Linked DNA regions of Homo sapiens: regions 2, 3, 4, 5 and 6 are each linked to region 1. The links are contacts of gene promoters, found by promoter capture Hi-C in blood cells and fetal thymus (Javierre and others, 2016). All regions are on one chromosome and are shown on one strand. Each heading gives the region's core, a stretch centred on a gene start or on the middle of the fragment in contact. The rest is flanking DNA. Distances are from core to core; before and after follow the strand shown. Region 1 holds the start of IGFL4 (IGF like family member 4). Region 2 has its middle 26 kb from the start of HIF3A. Region 3 has its middle 23 kb from the start of IGFL1. Region 4 overlaps LOC124904728 (a long non-coding RNA gene). Region 5 overlaps LOC93429 (a long non-coding RNA gene). Region 6 overlaps IGFL2-AS1 (IGFL2 antisense RNA 1).

What was found. The method cuts DNA at HindIII sites, captures the fragments that hold promoters and counts their contacts. A CHiCAGO score of 5 or more calls a contact.
Region 2: a fragment that was not itself captured here is called in contact with the fragment with the promoter of IGFL4 in region 1 in 9 of 17 cell types (M0 macrophages, M1 macrophages, megakaryocytes and 6 more); the score reaches 10.6 in M0 macrophages.
Region 3: a fragment that was not itself captured here is called in contact with the fragment with the promoter of IGFL4 in region 1 in 9 of 17 cell types (M0 macrophages, M2 macrophages, M1 macrophages and 6 more); the score reaches 10.9 in M0 macrophages.
Region 4: a contact is called between a fragment that was not itself captured here and the fragment with the promoter of IGFL4 in region 1, in 6 of 17 cell types (M1 macrophages, M2 macrophages, megakaryocytes and 3 more). The highest score is 9.4, in M1 macrophages.
Region 5: a fragment that was not itself captured here is called in contact with the fragment with the promoter of IGFL4 in region 1 in 3 of 17 cell types (M1 macrophages, M0 macrophages and M2 macrophages); the score reaches 7.3 in M1 macrophages.
Region 6: a contact is called between a fragment that was not itself captured here and the fragment with the promoter of IGFL4 in region 1, in 5 of 17 cell types (M0 macrophages, megakaryocytes, endothelial precursors and 2 more). The highest score is 8.4, in M0 macrophages.

The regions. Positions count from the first base shown.
Region 1 is chr19:46,039,380-46,043,259 of GRCh38, forward strand. It overlaps IGFL4 (IGF like family member 4), which reads right to left and starts at 1,623. Exons shown (of 4, transcript NM_001002923.3): 1 at 1,565-1,623; 2 at 1,139-1,189; 3 at 778-1,037; 4 at 1-557. The coding sequence starts at 1,583. The coding sequence ends at 513. The HindIII fragment of the contact is 377 bases long and covers 1,383-1,759 here.
Region 2 is chr19:46,269,209-46,273,088 of GRCh38, forward strand. No RefSeq gene overlaps it. Among named protein-coding and RNA genes, the nearest start is that of HIF3A, 26 kb to the right of the region's middle. RefSeq lists an enhancer at 1,992-2,705. The HindIII fragment of the contact is 6,624 bases long and covers 1-3,880 here.
Region 3 is chr19:46,250,465-46,254,344 of GRCh38, forward strand. No RefSeq gene overlaps it. Among named protein-coding and RNA genes, the nearest start is that of IGFL1, 23 kb to the left of the region's middle. The HindIII fragment of the contact is 4,818 bases long and covers 1-3,880 here.
Region 4 is chr19:46,232,040-46,235,919 of GRCh38, forward strand. LOC124904728 (a long non-coding RNA gene) reads right to left here. Exons shown (of 2, transcript XR_007067273.1): 2 at 3,768-3,865. Among named protein-coding and RNA genes, the nearest start is that of IGFL1, 4.2 kb to the left of the region's middle. The HindIII fragment of the contact is 4,669 bases long and covers 1-3,880 here.
Region 5 is chr19:46,212,118-46,215,997 of GRCh38, forward strand. LOC93429 (a long non-coding RNA gene) reads left to right here. Exons shown (of 6, transcript NR_027003.1): 3 at 1-117; 4 at 673-893; 5 at 1,212-1,366; 6 at 1,680-2,721. It also overlaps a transcript of IGFL2 not described here. Among named protein-coding and RNA genes, the nearest start is that of IGFL2-AS1, 11 kb to the left of the region's middle. RefSeq lists an enhancer at 1-148. The HindIII fragment of the contact is 6,207 bases long and covers 1-3,880 here.
Region 6 is chr19:46,188,763-46,192,642 of GRCh38, forward strand. It overlaps IGFL2-AS1 (IGFL2 antisense RNA 1), which reads right to left. Exons shown (of 3, transcript NR_135234.1): 3 at 267-1,652. It also overlaps a transcript of IGFL2 not described here. Among named protein-coding and RNA genes, the nearest start is that of IGFL2-AS1, 12 kb to the right of the region's middle. RefSeq lists an enhancer at 1,270-1,564. The HindIII fragment of the contact is 7,561 bases long and covers 1-3,880 here.

The DNA.
Region 1 (3,880 bases), core at 373-2,872:
TTTTTGGTTCCATATGAACTTTAAAGTAGTTTTTTCCAATTCTGTGAAGAAAGTCATTGGTAGCTTGATGGGGATGGCATTGAATCTGTAAATTACCTTGGGCAGTATGGCCATTTTCACGATATTGATTCTTCCTACCCATGAGCATGGAATGTTCTTCCATTTGTTTGTATCCTCTTTTATTTCCTTGAGCAGTGGTTTGTAGTTCTCCTTGAAGAGGTCCTTCACATCCCTTGTAAGTTGGATTCCTAGGTATTTTATTCTCTGTGAAGCAATTGTGAATGGGAGTTCACTCATGATTTGGCTCTCTGTTTGTCTGTTGTTGGTGTATAAGAATGCTTGTGATTTTTGTACATTGATTTTGTATCCTGAGACTTTGCTGAAGTTGCTTATTTGCACTCCAGCCTGGGGGACAGAGTGAAACTCTGTCACAACAACAACAAAATCAATGCAGTATAATTACCAAGTATTAGATTCTAGAGTGATCTGTGACTCTGCTACCCCAGAACAGTCTAGATGAGGTCAGATCTTGACACAGGGCTTTTTGGGTGGTATTCCTGCAGAAGGAGAGAAGTGGGAGAGGGGAATAAGAGGGAGGGTGGTAGCAGCAGTGGCGGGGAAGGAACAGAGACATGGAGAAAGACAGAGTTGCATGGTTACTGAGAGATGGGAAGGTATGGAACCCAGCAGAGACTGCACATCTGGGTGGGACATGGACAACCAAGCTCCATTCCCTACTCCCCCCTCCCACAGCCTGGACTGGAGTCAGATCCTTACCTGGGCACAGATCCTGGTGATAGGGGAGGACTTGCAATCTGGCTTCATGCCTGGGACCTTGAACCTCACAACTGTCTGGTTCTGAGAGCCCAAAGACTCCAGGCAGCAGTGCTGGAAGCAGGGCCAGAAGGTGCAGCTGGAGCCGCAGAGCCGGGTCTGGTTCAAGTCTAGGATGACACCGTCATCACAGCACTGCTCCAAGGGGTTGTAGGTCCACTCCCCGCACCTGGGCGCTGGCTGGCATAGCCACAGTCTAAGATCTGGAAGAGTCGGGGCTGGATGGGCTGCAAGGACCAGCCTAGGACCACCTCCCCACCAACCTTAATGCTGTTCTCTCCTCCCTCACTGCATCTGTTCTCACCTGTGACTCCTTCTGAGTTTGAACCCAAAAGTTCAAAAATGAAGATGGCAGCTGAGAAGCAGAAGGAGAGCGAGAATGATTCTGAGGTCACTAGGTCTTGACCACGGGGCACAGGATGATGTCTCTGAGCTTCTCTGGTTGCTGTTAACAGCTCAGAGTGGATTTTGGGACTGGCTGTGGGTGCAGGTCCTGGGGACTGGGCTTGGCAGGTGAGGAAAGGCAGGGAGGGCTCTGGGAAAAGTTAAGCTTCTGGAATTTGCAGTTCAGGAGACAGATTACAATGCAGTCACAGATGACATAGCAGTGATTATGAGGTGGGACACCAATAATTAAATAGGGAAGAGAGAATTAACTTTGAAGTTCAGAAATAATTAGGGATGTGATATCATTAGGGATTAGCTTAGCCTAGGGCTGGGGTCTCCTTACCAGAAATTCTGGGCACCATGGGTTAGGCTTCAGAGCAGCGGACGAGGGAGCAGCAGTGGAAATGGGTCAGTGACTTTACATAGGGGCTTATATAGGATATGAACTTACCGCCATTTAGGGAGGTGTGCAGAAGGAGTGGTTTCTTGGGAAGAGTTAGGCAAAAAGAGCTGCAGGGAACATAAATAATTCATCAAAAGCTTAATGAGATGCTTCTGGACCTGTTCCAAGTGGTTGCTGCCTCCTCAGACCCTTCAGATCCTCAGGGTAAAGGCTACCCAGGAACCTATCTAAGCTTTGACTCTGCTGAGTGTCTTTCTTTGAACACCGCCCAAGGGAAAACCACTTGGAAGATATTCCTTAACTCTTGCTTATCTAAGATCAAATTACTCACCAAACACCGGCTGTCTCTAGGCTCCCCATATTCCTCCACCCTGAAGTTTCAAGGAGTCCCTCTACTCCCCGTCTCAGTTCACCTGCAGACCTGCACTGTCTATAATTTTTCAGAGTCACGTAGGAGAATTTGTGAAGTTGCAGCATAATCTAGAAGAACAGCAGGGGCTGCAAAACTGTGCCAGGGAGAACAACAACAACAAAAATAGGCGGTGGTAGGATGGATCTCTGGGATTCCAGATAGGAAAGCAGCACCTTTTTTTTTTTTTTGGTTTGTGGAGTGCCTTGTCCAAGAAAATGCTCCTGTGTGTCTCACTGTGTGATGGGATTACATGTGGCGTATTTTTAGAGCATGCCCCTCCATTTTCCACTGGTTTCTTCCCTGTGTCACAGTGAGAAGGGTGGGAGGGTGAAAGAAGGATAAGGCACAGGTATTAGAGCTTTGTAAAAGTGCATTGTTAGTATAGACTCTCTAGAGTCTCTTCCTCCTCCCTCCTCTCTCTCTTTTTTTTTTTTTTTTTTTGAGACACCGTATCTCTCTGTCTCCCAGGCTGGAGGGCAGTGGTGCTATCTTTGCTCACTGTAACCTTTGCCCCCCAAGTTGAAGCCATCCTCCCACCTCAGCCTCTTGAGTAGCTGGGACTACAGGCAGGCACCTCCTGGCCTGGCTAATTTTTTTGTATTTTTCATAGAGTTAGGGTCCTACAATGTTCTGGTCTTGGAATCCTGAGCTCAAGCAATCCACCTGCCCCAGCCTCCCAAAGTGCATTGATTTTGTTGTTGTTGTGCTTATTTGCACTCCAGCCTGGCCTCTCCTTTCTTGACTGGATGTCCAAGTCTTCGGTATTGATTTCATGCAATAAACTAGCTCTCCTCGCCTATTTCTGCAGTTGCGTATTTGCATAGATATGTCTGTTTGTCTGCTTATCAATATGCCTTCTCCTTTCCCACACATCCAAACAGAAATCCCACCTGTAAAGACACATTCTCTCACCTACACAGAACAGCTGCTGCGGAAACAGACCTATAAGAACTACATTCCTGTTTATCAAGTTAAGTAGTGTGAATACCGCATTATAACTCCGAGCCAGCAACCAAGAAATTTATGACCACTTGAAAGGGAAAGCTGCAATGAAGAGTACAAGTGACTAAGGAGGGAAATCCCAAAGCTGATTACTAGAATTGATCTCTGTATAATTGAACTATCTATGTAGAAAATCCCACGGAACCCACTGTCAAGCAAGAGGTGAGTCTGACAGATTCTGTTAGTGACAAAAACAAGCTCTTTTTAGATTCAGACACTTTATTACTTACACAGACAGGGAAAGAAAGAGCCACAGGTGCCAGCACCATGTCCCTTATACAGGGTGACACTGAAACAAAAGGGCCAGATGACTGAACAAGAATAATAGGATGCCTGTTGCTGAGTAGAGAATCCAGCCTGTGGCTCCATGGTATAGGGAGGTAGAAAGCCTCATCCCTCCCTAGAAGCCAGAGGCAGTGAGAAGCTGTGTCATGGCGGCCTCCCTTATCCATAGGGAAGTGAGTGACAAGTGATGCTGTAGCAGCTTCCCACAAGCCTCCCATGACCTCACGTTCTGGGAAGACCAGAGAGTGTTCTGCCATGACATACATCAGCTACAGTTAATTTCACCAACGTGGCCCACGTGGAGATGTTTGAGGTCGCCGGGGCAGTAGGGCAGAGCCATTACCGTAAACCTACCCCCAAAGCTCCGGGAACTAATAAGTAAATTTAGATGGTTGTAGAATACAAAGTCAACACACAAAAATCAATTGTATTTCTCGCTCCTGGAATAAGTGGAAACAAAAATTTAGAGGGGAACAATGCCATTTATAATGCCCCCCTACTGAAATTGAATACTTAGGTATACTGTAAATCTAGGAGAACATGTAGAGGATATATAT
Region 2 (3,880 bases), core at 895-3,394, 230 kb after region 1:
TCTAATTTATCTACATCCTCATCACACTTGTTATCATTCTCACTTTTTAATTCTAGCCAGCCTTGTGGGTGTGAAGAGGCATCTCATTGTGGTTTTGATTTGCATTTCCTTGGAGACTAATGATGTCAAGTATATTTTCATTGCATATTGGCTATTTGTATATCTTTCTTGAAGAAATGTCAATTCAGATCCTTTGACCATTTTTAGTTGATTTATCAGTCTTATTATTGAAGTGCAGGAGTTTTTTTCTATATTCTAGGTACAAGTCCTTTAGGAGATACATGATTTGCAAATAGGTTTTCCCATTCTGTGTGTTATTTTCACTTTTTTGACTGTATCCCTTGAAGCACAAGTGTTAATTCTGACGAAATGCAAATTATCTATTTTTTTCTTTTGTTGTTCATGTTTTTGGTATCGTATCTAAGAATACTGTATTTTATTTTTTTGTTTTGTTTTGAGACTAAGTCTCACTCTGTCAACCCAGACTGGAGTGCAGTGGCACAATCATGGCTCACTGCAACTTCCATCTCCCAGGTTCCAGAGATCCTCCTGCCTCAGCCTCCTGAATAGCTGGGAGTACACCACCACACCCAGCTAATTTTTATATTTTTAGTAGAGACAGGGTTTCGCCATGTTGCCCAGGCTGGTCTCGAACTCCTGACCTCAAGTGATCTGCCCACCTCGGCCTCCCAAAGTGCTGGGATTACAGGCATAAGCCGACGCGCCCGGCCTTCTTGTTTTTATAAGTATTAGTCTTCAGCTTTCCATCTTCTGTCAGGATTTATTAAAAGACTCTTAGATATGAGACAGGAGGATCACTTGAGCTCAGGAGTTGGGGACCAGCCTGGGCAACAGAGGGAGACCCAATCTCTATTTTAAAAAAAAATTTTTTTTTAATAAATTAGCCAGGAATGATGGCATGCACATGTGGTCCCAGCTACTTGGGAGGCTGAGGTGCGAGGATCGCTTGGGCCTGGGAGTTCCAAGTTTCAGTGAGCCATGATCACGCCACTGCTCAGCAGTCTGGGTGGCAGAAAGAGATCCTGTCTCCAAAAACAACAACAACAAGATAAAACAACAAGAAAACATTTACCAGTTTTGTACCCAAGCGAGTTAGAGAAACGCTACACTTGGAGACAAATTCAGGAATCCTTTATTAGCTGGCGACCGAGAGACGGCTAACGCTCGAAATTCTCTCGGCCCCGAAGAAGGGGCTTGATTTTCTTTTATACGTTGGTTTAGAGAGGGGAGGGGGGGAATCTAGCTGTAACAATCTTTCAGAAGTAAAACAGATAAAAAATTAAAAAGACAAATGGTTACAGGAGAACAAAGTATTCCAGGTGCAGGGGCTTTAAATTCATCATAAGGTGATAGGCGTGAGGGCTCTGCCGGACACAAACACGGGGGCTTTATGGCACTATCTCCTGAGCGAATTCCTGGGAACTACGGACATTGATTGCCACAGTACCTTATCAGTTAATTGGACTCTCTGATATGCTGAGAGTCAGCTTACACGAGTTAACTCCTTGAGGAAGGGGGTCGGTAAGGAGTCCTGGATGTCTTGCAAATGAAGGAGCCAAATGGAGTCCGTCCGGTTTTCTCAGCTAAGGGAGAGTCTATTCATATTAAAACAAGGTTAGGTATTACACCAGGACAACAGCAATAACATGAAAGCATTCTTTTATTGAATAAATACTATTCAAGTTCTGTATTTCCATGGATTAGTTAATTAAATCACAAAATCACCTTAAGATGTCAGTCTCGTAAGAAAACTATGGCTCAGGGAGAGAGACAGAAAGAGATTTTCTAAGTGCTGTATGGCAGTGTGAGGAGTTTATCTCTGCAGGGCTTTGGCAACAAATGGAAACTGGTTCTGTTCGGAGATGGGCAACCACGGATGTACGCTGCTCAGATCTTCCTGTAAGAAAGGAAGCCCACTGGCCGGGCGCAGTGGCTCACGCCTGCCTGTTATCCCAGCACTTTGGGAGGCCAAGGTGGTCAGACCACAAGGTCAGGAGATCGAAACCATCCTGGCCAACATGGTGAAACCCCCTCTCTACTAAAAATACAAAAAATCAGCCGGGTGTGGTGTCACGCGCCTGTAGTCCCAGCTACTCGGGAGGCTGAGGCAACAGAATCGCTTGAACCCAGGAGGCAGAGGTTGCAGTGAGCTGAGATCGCACCATTGCACTCCAGCCTGGGGGACAGAGCAGGACTCCATCTCAAAAAAAAAAAAAAAAAAGAAAGAAAGAAAGAAAGGAAGCCCACTGTATGAGTCTGTTCTCACACGCTATAAAGATACTACCTGAGGCTGGGTAATTTATAAACGAAAGAGGTTTTAATTGACTGACAGTTCTGCATGGCTGGGAGGCCTCAGGAAACTTACAATCGTGACGAAAGATGAAGTGGGAAGCAAGGCACATCTTACTTACGTGGTGGCAGGAGAGAGTGAGGAGGGGAAACTCCCAGACACTGATGAAACAACCAGATCTCATCAGAACTCACTCACTGTCATGAGAACAGCATGGGGGAAACTGCCCCCTTGATCCAGTCCCCTCCCACCAGGTCCCTCCCTCCTCACCTGGAGATTACAATTCAAGATGAGATTTGGGTGAGGGGACAGAGCCAAACCATGTCACCCACGGGTCAGCCACAGAGCATAGTTAGCTTTACTTTAGCTGTAATGCCTTCAGGATCTGTCATAGCCTGGGAGACCAGATCGTGCACTTCCTGGCCAATGACCTGGACATTTCTTCCAAACGCAGGACTCCTCAAGTGGAAAATCTTTGTTGTGAAGCACCCTTTGAGGTTTGCCAAGATTTTCTTTCAGCTCTGAATCATAGTCTGAGTATTTTTCTGCCCACCTCAGCTTCTCTCTGTCAAGCAAAACTGACATATCTGGAAAGTAAGAAAATAAACCAGGCCACATGCAGTGGCCCATGCCTGTAATCTCAGCACTTTGGAAGGCCAAGGCCAGAGGATCATTTGAGTCCCAGGGTTTGAGACGACCCTGGGCAACACAGGAAGACCCTATCTCTACAAAAAATGTTAAAAGTTAACCAGGCGTGGTCAAGTGTGCCTGTGGTCCCAGCTGCTTGGGAGGCTGAGGTGGGAGGATCGCTTGAGCCTGGGAGTTGAGGACCAGCCCAGCCTGGGAAACAGCGAGACCCTGTCTCCACAACAAACAAAATAAGTTGGGTGTAGTGGCACACACCTGTAGTCTCAGCTACTTGGGAGGCTGAGGTTGGAGAATCGCTTGAGCCTGGGAGATCAAGGCTGCATAGAGCCAAGATTGCACCACTGAGCTCCAACCTGGGTGACAGAGCAAGACCCTGTCTCAAAAAAAAAGAAGAGGAAGAGGAAGAAGAGAGAAAGAAAGAAAGAAGGAAAGAAAGAAAGAGAGAAAGAGAGAAGGAGAGGGGAGGGGAGGGGAGGGAGAAGAAGAAAGTTCCCTCATCTATCAAGAAACTGGACCTGCCAAAGAGTAACACAGTTGCCTTCCCTGAAATTTCCTTAACCCTAGAAGATTAAAATTCACATCACAAGGCCGGGTGCGGTGGCTCATGCTGGTAATCCCACACTTTGGAAGGCCGAGGTGGGTGGATCGCCTGAGGTCAGGAGTTCAAGACTAGCCTGGCCAACATGGTGAAACCCCGTGTCTACTAAAAATACAAAAATTAGCCAGGCGTGGTGGCATGCGCCTGTAGTCCCAGCTACTCGGGAGGCTGAGGCAGGAGAATCACTTGAACCCAGGAGGCGGAGGCTGCAGTGAGCTGAGATCGCACTGGAGATTGGACTCCAGCTTTGGCAACAAGAACAAAACTCTGTCTCAAAAAAAAAAAAAAGAGAAAGAAAAACTTACATCACAGAGAAAAAGGCT
Region 3 (3,880 bases), core at 664-3,163, 210 kb after region 1:
GAGGTAAAACTCTTAGAAAAGTGCAGAGGCTCCCCTTAGACTGGGCCCCCTGGAATTTTTAATTCTCAGATTGCTCCACCCTGAGCCTCCAGGAATTCATTCGTTAGACTTCATGTTTTCCTATCCTGGTACTGGTTCCCACAGGGGTTTCTGGTCATGGGTTTCTGTTGCAGTAGTTTTGATTCTCTGTATCCACCTGCCTGTGTCAACAAATCTTAGGGCAGTGGTTTGCCCTGTGACCCCACTCCTCTAATGGATATAAGAAGAAGTGTTAATTGTTTCTTTGTTCAGTATTCACTTTCTGTTAAGATGGAGTGATGAGTTCCAAGTTTCTTACATGCTTGACTGGAAACTGGAAGTCCCAGAGAACATTTCTTTAGAGATGAGGTCTCACTATGTTGCCCAGGTTAGACTTGAACTCTTGGGCTCAAGTGATCCTCCCACATCAGCCTCCTGAGTATCTGGGATTATAAGCATGTGCCATAGCACCGGCTCAAAAACCTACTTTTAATAATGTTCATCCTCTGCAAGCTGAGACTTTCTTTATGACCCAACATATGTGTGGGGTTCCCAGTTTACATGATATTTACAAACACGTTGACTTTACTGGATGCTTATACGTCCTCATTTCATTGTGCTTAAAGAGGAAACTGTAGCTCAGAGAGGTTAAGTACGTTTTGAAATGCCACAACTAGTAATGGTAAACCTGGGTCCCTAAAGTCACGAGAGAGAATTATGAGAGTATGATAGGAAACTTCAAAGGTACCGAAGGCAGAAACTGCTAACAGCATTGGTCTCTGAGGAGTGCAAACGAGCAAATGAGGGGGGAGGTAAAAGGAGGGGAAGGAGATTTTTATTTTTAATTTTCAAAAACCATGTGCTGAAAGTTTTATGCTTTGCATGCATATCTCTAATAATTTAGGGTGAATTTGGGTTGGGCAAATACCCAGGAGAGTGACCAATGGCAAGACAAGACAATGAGAGAGGTAAGCGTGAGTCCTATGGGATGCATAGAGTGAGTCCTTAATTCTCTATCAGTGAGGGAAGTTGGAAGCAGGGTGGGAAGGTTGGGAGAAAGAGAAACCCTGAAGGGAACTAAGTTACTGGGAGCAGGTGCTGGTAGGTGAGTCATGCTGTGGAAGCCTGTTTGCACTGTTTCAAGGAGTGACTCTTTGGTTGGATGAAAAAGGGACGCCGTGGGTGTAGGTAGAGAAGGTGCTGGAGGGGAAGGCAGGCCCAGGTAGCAAAGGGCCTTGTGGGACAAGCTGGGAGCCTGGGTTTCATCCTAGCGGTGGTGGGGAGTCGTTCAATAATTTTTTTGGTTTTTTCTTTTCTTTTCTTTTCTTTTTTTTTTTTTTGAGACAGAGTTTTGCTCTTGTTGCCCAGGCTGGAGTGCAATGGCGCCATCTCGGCTTATCACAACCTCTGCCTCCAAGGCTCAAGCAATTCTCCTGCGTCAGTCTCCCAAGTAGCCGGGATTACAGACATGCACCACCACACCCAGCTAATTTTTTTTAATTTTTATTTTTTGTATTTTTAGTAGAGATGGAGTTTCTCCATGTTGATCAGGCTGGTCTTGAACTCCCAACCTCAGGTGATCCACCCTCCTTCGGCCTCCCAAAGTGCTGGGATTACAGGTGTGAGCCACCGCGACTGGCCATCACTCAATAATTTTAAGCAGTGAAACTCATGACCAGATTTGCATTCTTCTAAAACCAGGCCCCACTCTGTGATCCTGGCGTGTCTTCCCAGACACCCGGGACTATCACAGTCACCACTGCAGCAGGGCAGCGTTTTCCAGCACACTATTATCACCTTGCTCATGTGTTTATTTACTTTGCAAAAATATTGGTTTGTTAGTGTCAGAGACAATTCCCCATGGATCTCTTGCTTTTTTGCTGGCCTGGCAGTGAGGCATTGACTGTCCTTTTGTTCCACACTCTTTTCAAGGATGTTTGTGTAGTGTACTGCCTTGGAAGACAGAGGTAAGGTTTCCCTTTAGAGCAAAGAATACTTGTTTACTGTCCTGTATAAAAATAATACTCTCTTCCTCCAGGTCATTTAGGCTCTGATAAAACCCTAATAATTTAGATTCTGGTAAAATGCTTTCTCTTAATGGCAGAGCTTGTTAAGAAGAACAGAATACTCTGGTGTGTTTCACAGCGGTTACTTTCCCCCTTCCCACTTCATGCCAGACCATGAAGGAGATTTTTCTCCCATATTCACTGTGAGAACCTGATAGGGTTCCTGGAGGTAAAACTCTTAGAAAAATGCAGAGGCTCCCCTTAGACTGGGCCCCCTGGAGTTTTTAATTCTCAGACTGCTCCGCCGTGAGCCTCCAGGAATTCATTCATTAGACTTCATGTTTTCCTGTCCTGGTACTGGTTCCCACAGGGGTTTCTGGTCATGGGTTTCTGTTGCAGTAGTTTTGATTCTCTGTATCCACCTGCCTGTCTCTCGAAATCTTAAGGGCAGTGGTTTGCTCTGTGATCCCACTCCTCTAATGGATGTAAGAATTGTTAATTTTCTCTTTGTTCAGTATTCACTTTCTGTTAAGATGCAGTGATGAGTTCCAAGCCTCTTACATGCTTGACTGGAAGCTGGGAGTCCCAGAGAACATTTCTTTAGAGATGAGGTATCACTATGTTGCCCAGGTTAGACTTGAACTCTCAGGCTCAAGTGATCCTCCCACATCAGCCTCCTGAGTATCTGGGATTATAGGCATCTGCCATAGCACCCAGCTCAAAAACCTACTTTTAATAATAATCATCCTTTGGAAGCTGAGACTTTCTTTATGACCCATCATATGATCAATTTAGCATAAATGTTTAACATAGACTTGAAAAAAATGTATGTTCTACCACTGATGAGAGAGAGATATTTATATATTTGCATATATAAAATTAGGCCAGGTGTGTTGGCTCACACCTGTAATCCCAGCACTTTGGGAGTCCGAGGTGGGCAGATCACCTGAGGTCAGGTGTTCAAGACCAGCCTGGCCAATATGGTGAAACCCAGTCTTTACTAAAAATACAAAAATTAGCTGGGTGTGGTGGTGGGCACCTGTAATCCCAGATGCTCGGGAGGCTGAGGCAGAAGAATCACTTGAACCTGGAAGGCAGAGGCTGCAGTGAGCTGAGACGGTGCCACTGCACTCCGGCCTGGGATATTGAGCGAGACTTCAACTTAAAAAAAAAAAAAATTTCTTGCATTTCTATACACTAACAATGAACAAGCCAAAAAGGAAATTAAGAAAACTACCTCATTTATAATACCATCAAAAAGAATAAAGTGCTTCAGGCCAGGCATGGTGGCTCACGCCTGTAATCCCAGCACTTTGGCAGGCTGAGGCAGGTGGATCACTTGAGGTCAGGAGTTCAAGACCAGCCTGGTCAACATGGTGAAACCCCGTCTCTACTAAAAATATGAAAATTAGCCGGGCATGGTGACGCTCGCCTGTAATCCTAGCTACTCCAGAGGCTGAGGCAAGAGAATTGCTTGAACCCAGGAGGGGGAGGTTACAGTGTGCCAAGATCATGCCACTGCACTCCAGCCTGGGCCACAGAGCAAGACTCTGTCTCAAAAAATAAAAATAAAAAAAGAATAAAATAATTCAGAATAAACTTAACCAAGAGAGCAAATGACTTGTATAGTGCAAACTACAAAACATTGTTGAAAAAAAGTAATGAAGACACAAATAAATGGAAAGACAGTCTGTGTTCATGGGTTGGAAGATTTAATATTGTAACAATGTCCATACTACCCAAAGTGATCTACAGCTTCAAAGCAATCTCTATCAAAATCTCAATGACAATTTTGCAGAAGCAGAAAAAATCCTAAAATTCGCATGGACTCTTAAGGGACCCTGAATAGACAAAAT
Region 4 (3,880 bases), core at 905-3,404, 190 kb after region 1:
TATAATGTTTAAGGTATGCATTCATCAAAAATAAAGTTTAGTGGAAACTGACTCTTCTGGTCGCTAACAGAAACCTGATCTGCCACACACCCATCCCAGGCACGCGTCCCCTGGGATCGTGGAAAACCCACTGGGCAGGTCCAACGCCCAGAGATGCCACACTTAGTCTGACTTTGGGCCAAAGCTGGAGCCTGAGAGGGAGTGGGTGGGGCGGGGTGTGGAGGATGTGGGCTATGGAGGAGCCCTCGGGTTTGGAAGGAGGAAGCAAAGGCTGGCCAAGGCACCTGAAGCACATTCTTCAGGCCCTGTGCCAGGGACAAACCCTCGTGGCCAGTGCTGATGTGGAATAGATCGCAGGGAGGGGGCCACGCTGCTGCTTACCCAACCCAGAAGCAGGTTCCTTAGGGAGCGTTCAGCCCTAGGGTCTCCACCAACCTGGATTCCCCAAAGTCAAAGAAGCCACCACCTTTCTGGGTCCTGTTTCTCAGGGCCAGGGGGTCTGCACAGGGCCTGCGTCCCTGGGCCTCAGTCATCCGAGGCCAACCCAGGCTCCCGGACTGCCCGATGGCTTCCCTGGGCAGATTCTGACTCAAAGGGTTCCATCATCGCCCCACAGTTGGCAGCCTCGCCTCAGTGGCCCCAGACGGGCCCGGTGGCCAGGTGTCTGCACGTGCGGGAACTCTGGACCCGGCACATCACCATGGCAGCAATCTGGCATCACAGGGCAAATGCCCTGTCTCACAGGCCTAACCCTAGCTCAGGGCCTATCAGTGGGAGCACACCCAATGCTGGGTGAGCTCTGCCTCCCCATGCTAGGATTCTGCAGGGCGTGAGAGCTGTGCTGGCGCCTAGAAAGCGACAGACCCACCCCACCCACGGGGTGGCTGCTTCCTCATCCTCCACAGTGAGCGTCCTAAACCTTCACCCTGTCCACATGTGACTCTCCTTGCCTGCACTCCCCCCACCACCCCATGAAATGATCTCATTTGGTCATTTAAGTGGAAAACTAAAAAGTTTTAAGTGACTCCGTGAGAGCAGGAGAGAGGCGGGTCTCCCAGCTCAGACCCCGCCCTGGACGCCCCCACTGAAGCCGCACAGCAGGATGTAGGTGCCCAAGGCACCTACACGCGCCGAGAGGCCTCGCTCAGCCCCGCCCTTCTTAAACCTGGAATCCTCAGGTGTCTGGGTCCTGCCCCATACAGGCCCCCTAGACCACTGGTCCAGATCCCCAACCTTCCCCCAACACGAGGTATTGACATCAAAGCATCACCTCATCTGGCACAAGAATCTGAAACACAGACCGCACCTTACACCAATGTAGTGAATCCCTCCTTGGATCTCAGTCCAACAAGCCCAGAGTCGGGGCTCTGGGTTCCCGCCCAAATGCCACGTGTGCGCACAGAAGGCACCTGACGTCCCTTCTAAGGGACAGGAATCTCAGGCATCCCAGAATCACTAGGTCTGATTTAAATAGCGTCAAATAAATTGGAAAAGAATGAAAGTGCTATAAAGTTCGGCTGAAATTTTCAGAGGTTTTATTGGTTGTATCTGGTGGAGAGAGTGGGCAAGTCTTCTCTGAACATCCATGAGGACGAAGAACAGTCACTGAGGTGACGGTACCAAGTCACCGGCCACCTCCCAGGGATCCTCTCATCCGGTCCTCACAGCAGCGCTGCATGGTCGGACCTCATCACCCACATTCCACCAAGAGGAAGCTGAAGCCCGGGGCCTTCATCCACTCATGTCCTCCAGACCCCTGGCACCCATCCTGGGCCCCACCCCATCATCCAGGCCTTGGGCCTTCGACCTGGGGAGAGTCCCTGTCTCCTCCATGAGCCGCCCTGGGCCTGAAGAGGTATCCAATAAACAAGAAAGCAGAACACAAAGAGCTGTGATGGAGTGGATCTTATGTAGTAAGAATAAACTTATTTTGAGAAATTTCTGGGTCATGTATTTACCCACAGAAAAACAGAAGCAAACACACACACACACACACGCACACACACACACACACACACCACACAGGCTGTCACGTGTCCTAAGCACAAAGTGCCTTGAGCAAGGCCATTGCTGGCCCCACACTTATCCTGACTGTGATCTTGCTGTGATCAGCACATCCCATCAGTGTGGCAACAGGTGTGGCCAGAGTGGGAACCAGGCCTTTTCTTCAGATTTGCTCTTTGTTCCTGAATAGCCACCGTCAGAACAGACACCCTCCTAGAAGTCACTTGATTAAAAATTTCCTTTTGGATATTTAGGTTGATGTTTTATCCATCGGTTAAAGTATAAATGTATATTTATTATAAAAGTGTAATTATGGCTCTAATTAATGATTATGGTGAATTTTAATAACTATAGCTATGAAAATATTCCAATAGATAAAAACAGTGCTAAAATATACAGTTAATATAAGAGTGATTACTTTAAGATAAATCTTGTAATTTTTGATCTAATAAATCTTCATAAAATATACATGATCATGAAGCACATCAATAGAATTAATCCTAATATTTATAGCAATACTTGGCGTGCTCTCTCTCATAAAAAATAACATTAATAGTAAAAAAAAAAAAAAGAAACAAAGAAATCGGCTGGGCATGGTGGCTCATGCCTGTAATCCCAGTACTTTGGGAGGCTGAGGCAGGCAGATCACGAGGTCAGGAGATCAAGACCATTCTGGCTAACATGGTGAAACCCCGTCTCTACTAAAAATACAAAAAAGGAGCCGGGTGTGGTGGCGGGCGCCTGTAGTCCCAGCTACTCAGGAGCTGAGGCAGGAGAATGGCATGAACCCAGGAGGTGGCGCTGGTAGTGAGCTGAGATCATGCCACTGTCCTCCAGCCTGGGCAACAGAGTGAGACTCCATCTCAAAAAATAATAATAATAATAATAAAGAAATGATGAAATTTAAAAATTCTATTTAATTTTGGGTTGTTTAATTTTCATTTGGGGCATGACTATGTGAAGTAATAAATTTTGTTTGGGCATTAATATGGGATGACCTATGTCTCCCGCAAAATTCATGTGTTGAAGTCCTAACCCCAGTATCTCTGAATATAACTGTATTTGGAGATAAGGTCTTTGAAAAGGCGATTACGGTAAAATGAGGTCATATGAGCAGGACCTAATCCAAGCTGACTGGTGTCCCTATAAGAAGAGGATATTAGGGCACAGACACACACACAGAGGCCATGTGAAGACACAGGGAGGAGTTGGCCATGGATAAGCCAAGAGATAGACCCTCAGAAGAAACCATCCTGCCAACACCTTGATCTCATACTTCTGGCTTCCAGAACTGTGAGGAACTGAATTTCTCCTGTTCAAGCCACCCCTCTGGTGCCCTTGATTATGGCAGTCCTGGGGGATTAACACAGGCAGAAGGAAAATGAAGGATGCAAGAGTCAGAGAAAGGAAGAAATCAAATGTACTTTCTCCTCATACAATTTTCAAAATTTCAGTTACTTTAGGAAAACACTTTTTGGGAAATTATTCTAAACTGGGTGTTTGGCGTTTTATTCTAAACTAGGTGTTTAGTGACTAGATACTTTCTTTTCTTTCATAACACATGGTATCTGATTTTCTGGGAAACTTTCTATTTGACAAGTGTGTGATCAGGGATCTCTACATGAATTCTCCACAGAAAGACTGATCTCATGGATCTAGAATTTGCAGTGGTTCTTGTGATTAGATACCTGAAGGAAATATTGCTCTTATGTGACATTAAAGAAGAAAAATATGACACTTACGGCAAGTAAAAAGACGGCGTGTGGTTCTATACGCTTGTCTGGGGCTTTTATTGTCTGCACCCTTTGGCCTTTTTGAGTTGCCAGCTTCTCCAGGTCCTCCAGCTTCTCATGAGTTGCATCTAGGATATATGAGG
Region 5 (3,880 bases), core at 672-3,171, 170 kb after region 1:
CGTCCTAATCTGTGTCCTGGAAAACAACACTCTACCCCACAGCAACAAGGCATGGAGGCCAATGGAGAAGACAGGGAGATGGTGCTGGAAGCAGGGTCTGCTCTTCCCCTGGGGAAGGTGCGTGCTGAGCACTCTGGTATTTATCATGAGATCATTTCTGCTGCAGCCTCTTCCCTTGTCGCCTGCCTCCAGAGAGAAGCCCCTGTCCATGCTCCCCAGAAAGATACAGGATCTTCCACACACACAGATCTGACCACATACATCCCCTGCTGGGAATAACCCTGGGGAGAATGGCTTGTCCATACCAGGTGTGGCCTGTGAACTCACAAACTGAGGAAATCCTGCAGAAGCTGGGAGGGGCCCACAGAACTGACCCAAGACAGCTTCTTCCCCTCTGTTTTTTCGTCCTGACCCCAAGATGGCTCTTCTGTGGGGAAATCACACACCCGACCCTCTGAAAAAGCACGTTAAGGAAAAATGTCCTTGAAAATCTCAGGAGGGCTGTGGAATTTCTCCACCACCAGAACTTCACAGTGACAATGACACCAAACACAAGAACGACAATAACCAAAATCAGGAGTTTTATTCTCCTACCTTCTCTCTCTCTCTCTCTCTCTCTCCTCTCACTGTCATGAACGTCACGAAGACACTGACTTTGCATTTTCTACTCAGCACTGCATCACCAGTGTCTGACACAAAGCCTGGGACATGTGGGCTTCCAAGTGGACCTCTCCTGGATAAATGACCATTAATGAAACAGAGAAGGAGTTGAAGAGCCCCCAGAGGAGTGTGAGTCCCAGGGGTCCCGCCAGCTCCACTCCCACCTTCCAAACCTGTGAAAGTCAGGTGCCTGAGTCGCACAGTCTCTCCCACCCGAATGCCATGAGCTGCAGGTGAGTGAGCAGTTACTGCATCCTGGGCCATGGGCTTGGGTTGTGAAGTTAGGACCTGATTAGAGGATGTCAGGGGTTAGCAATGTACCAAGGAAAGTGGAGAAAGTCATAGCTCAATGGGATCCTGTGGAATCACTGTGTGGCTGTGTGAGTGGGGGAGGGCGGTAACTATAGGAGCATGCTGCACCTTCCTGTTTGCCAAAGAGGGGGCATGTAGGACACAGAAGCGGAGGGTGCACCACTTCTCCCTGGGTTCTCAAAGTGTCTGAGATCAAATCTACTATGACACATACCCTGCCTGGCTCCTTTACTGCCCAGCGACCCAGCCTGTCTCTGCAGGAGGGCCAGACATGCCGTGACATCACCAGCTCCTCTAGGAATATGGGATACAAGGAGTGGCTGAGATCGGCTGATCACCAGCTCACTCCGCTGCAGCCGCCCCAGAGCAATGGCTCCCCGAAGCCGTGTTCTGGGTAAGGAGGGGAGGACCCCATTCCCAACCGAACCCATCTCCCATCTCAGCCACCACCAGGGCTCGCTCCCCACCCCAAACTCCCTGTTCCCTCATTCTTGTTCCCATGCCCAGCCAAATCTCCAGGCGTGAATTGCTCACAGCAATTCCCCATCCACAGCGCCCGGGTCAGCCCCATCCACAGCCCTGTTTCAGTTTCTGAACTGCCCAAAGCCATACCGAGCCCTGGTTCCACCCAATCTTCTTCTAAATGTCAGTGCCAGTCGTATCTGTGGCTGTCCACTCACCCCATCTTCCCCTTCCCTCTCCCACAGCTGTCTTGGCCGCTTTCTGTTTGTGACTCTCCCTGCCTCCACTCCCCCCACCACCCCATGAAATGATCTCATTTGGTCATTTAAACGGAAAACTAAAAAGTTTTAAGTGACTCTAGGAGAGCAGGAGAGAGGCAGGTCTCCCAGCTCAGACCCCGCCCCGGGACGGCCCCACGGAAGATGCACATCTGGATGTAGGCGCTCAAGGCACCGCGCGTGCGCCGAGTGGCCTTGCTCAGCTCCGTCCTTCTGAAACCCGGAATCCTCATGTGTCTGGGTCCCGCCCCATCCTGGCCTCCTACACCACTGGTCCAGATCCTCCACCTTCCCCCAACGCGAGGTATTGACATCAAAGCATCACCTCATCTGGCACAAGAATCTGAAACACAGACCGCACCTTACACCAACGTAGTGAATCCCTCCTTGGACCTGAGTTCAACAAGCCCAGAGTCGGGGCTCTGGGTTCCCGCCCAAATGCCACGCATGCACACAGATGGCACCTGGCGTCTCCTCAAAGGGACAGGAATCCCGGGCTTCCCAGAATCACCAGGTCGATTTAAATGGCATCAGATGAACTGGAAAAGAATGAAAGTGCTATTGCCTAAAGTGATGAAATTTTCAGAGGATGTATCGGTCCTGTCTGGTGGACAGACGGCCACCAGAGGGAATGAACCAGTCTTCTCTGAACATCCATGAGGATGAAGAACAGTCACTGAGGTGACGGTACCAAGTCACCGGCCACCTCCCAGGGATCCTCTCATCCGGTCCTCACAGCAGCGCTGCATGGTCGGACCTCATCACCCACATTCCACCAAGAGGAAGCTGAAGCCCAGGGCCTTCATCCACTCATGTCCTCCAGACCCCTGGCACCCATCCTGGGCCCCACCCCATCATCCAGGCCTTGGGCCTTCGACCTGGGGAGAGTCCCTGTCTCCTCCATGAGCCGTCCAGGGCCTGAAGAGGTATCCAATAAACAAGAAAGCAGAACACAAAGAGCTGTGATGGAGTGGATCTTATGTAGTAAGAATAAAATTATTTTGAGAAATTACTGGGTCATGTATTTACCCACAGAAAAACAGAAGCAAACACACGCGTGCGCGCACACACACACACACACACCACACAGGCTGTCACGTGTCCTCAGCACAAAGTGCCTTGAGAAAGGCCATTGCTGGCCCCACACTTATCCTGACTGTGATCTTGCTGTGATCAGCACATCCCATCAGTGTGGCAACAGGTGTGGCCAGAGTGGGAACCAGGCCTTTTCTTCAGATTTGCTCTTTGTTCCTGAATAGCCACCGTCAGAACAGACACCCTCCTAGGAGTCACTTGATTAAAAATTTCCTTTTGGATATTTAGGTTGATGTTTTATCCATCGGTTAAAGTATAAATGTATATTTATTATAAAAGTGTAATTATGGCTCTAATTAATGATTATGGTGAATTTTACTAACTATAGCTATGAAAATATTCCAATAGATAAAAACAGTGCTAAAAATGTACAGTTAATCCAAGAGTGGTAACTTTAAGTCTTGTAATTTTTGATCTAATAAATCTTCATAAAATATACATGATCATGAAGTACATCAGTAGAATTAATCCTAATATTTACAGCAATACTTGGCGTGCTGTCTCTCATAAAAAATAACATTAATAGTAAAAAAAAAAAGAAGAAATCGGCCAGGCACGGTGGCTCACGCCTGTAATACCAGAACTTTGGGAGGCCGAGGCAGGCAGATCACAAGGTCAGGACATCGAGACCATCCTGGCTAACACGGCAAAACCCCGTCTCTACTAAAAATACAAAAAATTAGCCCAGCGTGGTGGCGGGTGCCTGTAGTCCCAGCTACTCGGGAGGCTGAGGCAGGAGAATGGCATGAACCCAGGAGGCAGAGCTTGCAGTGAGCCGAGATCACGCCACTGCACTCCAGCCTGGGTGACAGAGCGAGACTCCATCTCAAAAAAATAAAAAAATAAAATAGTAATAAAGAAATGATGAAATTTAAAAATTCTATTTAATTTTGGGTTGTTTAATTTTCATTTGGGGCATGACTATGTGAAGTAATAAATTTTGTTTGGGCATTAATATGGGATGACCTATGTCTCCCCCTAAATTCATGTGTTGAGGTCCTAACCCCAGTATCTCAGAATATAACTGTATTTGGAGATAAGGCCTTTGAAAAGGTGATTACAGTAAAAGGTCA
Region 6 (3,880 bases), core at 698-3,197, 150 kb after region 1:
GCCCACATATTTCCTACCCTTGCCTGACAGCTCATTTGCCTCCCAGCATATGGCCAGAGGCACACCTTTAGCAACTCGGACAGAGCCCCCATTCATCCTGGGGCAGGTGGCCAGCTCTTTGTGGGAGCATGGCAGGCAACTGCGAAGTCTTCCACAGTGGGATAGAGAGTCCTGGGATGTAGGGACCAGCCCTACAGGGTCTGTGGGTTTTTCTCCCCATGTGCGGAGACGAGAGATCATAGAAATAAAGACACAAGACCAAGAGATAAAAGAAAAAACAGCTGGGCCCGGGGAACCACTACCACCAAGACACAGTGACCAGTAGTGGCCCCGAATGCCAGGCTGCGCTGTTATTTATTGGATACAAGACAAGGGGGCAGGGTGAGCAGTGTGAGCCATCTCCAATGATAGGTAAGGTCATGTGGGTCATGTATCCACTGGACAGGCGGCCCTTCCCTGTTTGGCAGCTGAGGTGGAGAGAAAGGAGACAGCTTATGCCTTTATTTTTGCATTTCAGAGACTTTTAGTACTTTCACTAATTCTGCTACTACCTAGAAGGCAGAGCCAGGTGTACAGGATGGAACATGTAAGCGGACCAGGAGCGTGACTGCTCTGAAGCACAGCATCACAGGGAGACAGGCCTCTGGATAACTGCGGGCAGGCCTGACGGATGTCAGGCCCTCCACAAGAGGTGGTGGAGCAGAGTCTTCTCTAACTCCCCCGGGGAAAGGGACACTCCTTTTCCCAGTCTGCTAAGTAGTGGGTGCTTTTCCTGGGCACTGACGCTACCGCTAGACCAAAGTCGGCTAGGTAACGGGCATCTTCCCGGGCACTGGCATTAACGCTAGACTAAGGAGCCCTCTAGTGGCCCTGTCGGGGCATAATAGAAGGCTCACACTCTTGTCTTCTGGTCATTTCTCACTGTGTCCGTTCAGCTCCTATCTCTGTATGGCCTGGTTTCTCTTAAGTTATAATTGTAGAGAGAAGATTATTATTATAATGGAATAAAGAGTAATTGCTACAGACTAATGATTAGTAATATTCATATATAATCATATCTACGATCTATATCTAGTATAACTATTCTTATTTTATATGTTTTCTTTATTATACTGGAACAGCTTGTGCCCTCGGTCTCTTGCCTCGGCACCTGGGTGGCTTGCTGCCCACACTGGGAAATGTGTAAGTAACACGTCCTGGGTTGACAGGGTAGAATCTGAGTAATAAATTTGTGAATGAGCCCTTGGGGCTGAAATCAGGAACTCTGCAGGGACCCCAAAGCCCAGAACCCAATATTAAACACGGTGTTATGTGTCAGTTTGCTGGTGCTGCAGAATCAACGACCTCTACATTCAGTGTCATGGAACAACCACATCATGATTGCTCCTGAGTCCATAGGTCATCTCGTGATTCTGTTGATCTGGGCCAGGCTCAGTTGACCTTGATGGGGGGGTTGCTCACATGTCTGTGCTCAGCAGGTAGATAGACTGGATTCTGGTTCATCTACAAAGAACTCATTCACCTGTCCTCAGTTGTCTGGAAATAGGCTTTTCTGGGATGTCCTCAGCTGGGACATCAGGGCTCTGTCTCCTCCATGTGGTCTCTCACCCTCCAACAGGCTGGCCAGAGGGTGTTCACATTGCTTTAATTTCCTGAGAAAGTGGAAGTACCAGAGTCCTTGAGCAAAGTCTTAACTCAAAACTGGCACATGATCGATCACTCCACAGTGTCCTATAGACCACAAATTCCACAGGGTGCAGACAGTCAAGGGAATGGGGACATGGATACCAAATCTTAATAGACGTAAAGTCATATTTTGCAAGTGTGTGAATGAGGAAGGAGAGATAATCAGGACTGTATCTGCAGCCTACCACAGACCCTCCCAGCCCTCTTTGCCAAGGCTGAGGATATTTATCACGCCCCCTGGTAATCCCCCAACCCTCTCCTGTGGGGCAAAGAGCCTTGCATCATTCCTTCCCCCATGGGGGGTGGGGGTTGACTTTGAAGAGACCAAAAATGCATGTGGCTTTAGGGTATTCTGCAAAATCACGGACCTGGATCTTTTTACCATCAAAAAGAAAAATTCAGAAAAGACAATCCCTGAGACTCTGGCCCTCGCCCTCAGAAGAAGGGTTGACTATTCGGGAGTCCCGCTGAGTCATCTGTGGTGCTAGGAACACCAGGAATGATTGAGCCTCCAGTCCAAGCTCCATCTCCCCTCAGGCCCCTCAGTATGCACCATCCCCACAATGCCAGCATTTCTCAATGGACTGGACCTCAAAGTGGGGGAGAAGCAGGTATGTTTTTCTGAGGCATGTCAAGAAAGACTTCATTCTAGATATGTTAGAGATATCTCACCTTCCTTTCTAAATTTAACAAAAAAGTTATTAAATATAGAATTAATAAAGGAAAAATCATACTTCTAGTATAATTTCAAGAGCCCACAGAAAACAGATACTACAAAACTCAGCCCAGAAAGGGAAGACGCAGGGCCATAATGGGAGGGAGAGGAGAAAAGAGACTGATTTGGGGTTGGGAGGCCGATGTAGACTCCAGGGTATGCCTCACTGGAAGGAATGCTATTCCTCACTGAATTTTCCCTCCCAGGGCGGGGTGAGGGTCAGATTCAAGTTTGGCCTCAACCTGAGCTGGGCTAAAGAGAAGATCAGGAAGTGAGGATGAGGATGAAGGAAGGTGGACAGGACTAGGTGGTGGTGGGAACAAGTAAACGTTGCCAGAGTGGATAGGTGCATCCTGGGAAAGAAAGCTCTGAGCTCTGAGGTGTGTCTTTATGTCATACTTTGGATTGAGTTCTCAATCTCACCACCTGCAAGGAACAGGGAGGGCAAGAGACATGAGGGCCCTTTTCTCTCTCCTTTTTTTCTCCAAAAGAAAGCATGTTTTTGGAGAGCCGCAGGTCATCACAGACTCAGGGGCCTTGTGAAATTATGCTGGGAAGCAGAAATGAGCAAACCGGCTTCTCATGTTTGTTACTTTGTCTCACAGTGACCACCATAATTTCATTAAATATTAGCTCTCTTCTCCCCCCATCATTTGATTACTCTTTTTGTAAAATATGGGATTTTTACATAGTTTGACTAAAAGTATCTGATTTTCTTTTGTAATCTTATTTACTATTTTATTTGTAATCATTGAATTTTTGATTCATACTTTTCTTCTTGGCATAGCTTGTTTTCCATTATTTTATACATGTGAGAGGTGTTCTTTTAAAACTTCATCAGCACAGCAATAAAGTGAAAACCAAAGCTCCTTTTCCACTCTAAGCCCTTGTCTTTCTCCTTGGAGTGATTCACTGTCCTCTCTGGTGAGAACTCAGGGTTCCAAACGTGCCTAGAAGAGCACACCCACAGGGACACAACAGTGGGCAGCAGGGGCTGGGGTGCAGGTGCCCTGTGGCTAGCGCTCCCAGGTCAAACCCTGACCTTGCCCCACTGACTGTGACTGTGGGTGAGTTATGAAGCCACTCTGTGTTTCAGTTTCCTCATTTGTAAAATGATGATGAAACCCAGACAAGATGAATCAATAATTGTAAAGAGTTATGAAGAATGCTCGATGCTCAAATTACATTAAACATTGTGGAATTGCTTTTCTGAAAATATTTTGTTTGTTATAACTTTACATAAATGCCTCATTCTTTTGCTTTTTTTTTTTTTTGAAATGGAGTCTCGCTCTGTCACCCAGGCTGGAGTGCAGTGGCATGATCTCAGCTCACTGCAACCTCCACCTCCTGGGTTCAAGCAATTCTCCTGCCTCAGCCTCCCAAGTAGCTGGGACTACAGGTGCCCACCACCATGCCGGGCTAACTTTTGTATTTTTAGTAGAGACAGGGGTTTCACCATGTTGACCAGGCTAGTCTCGA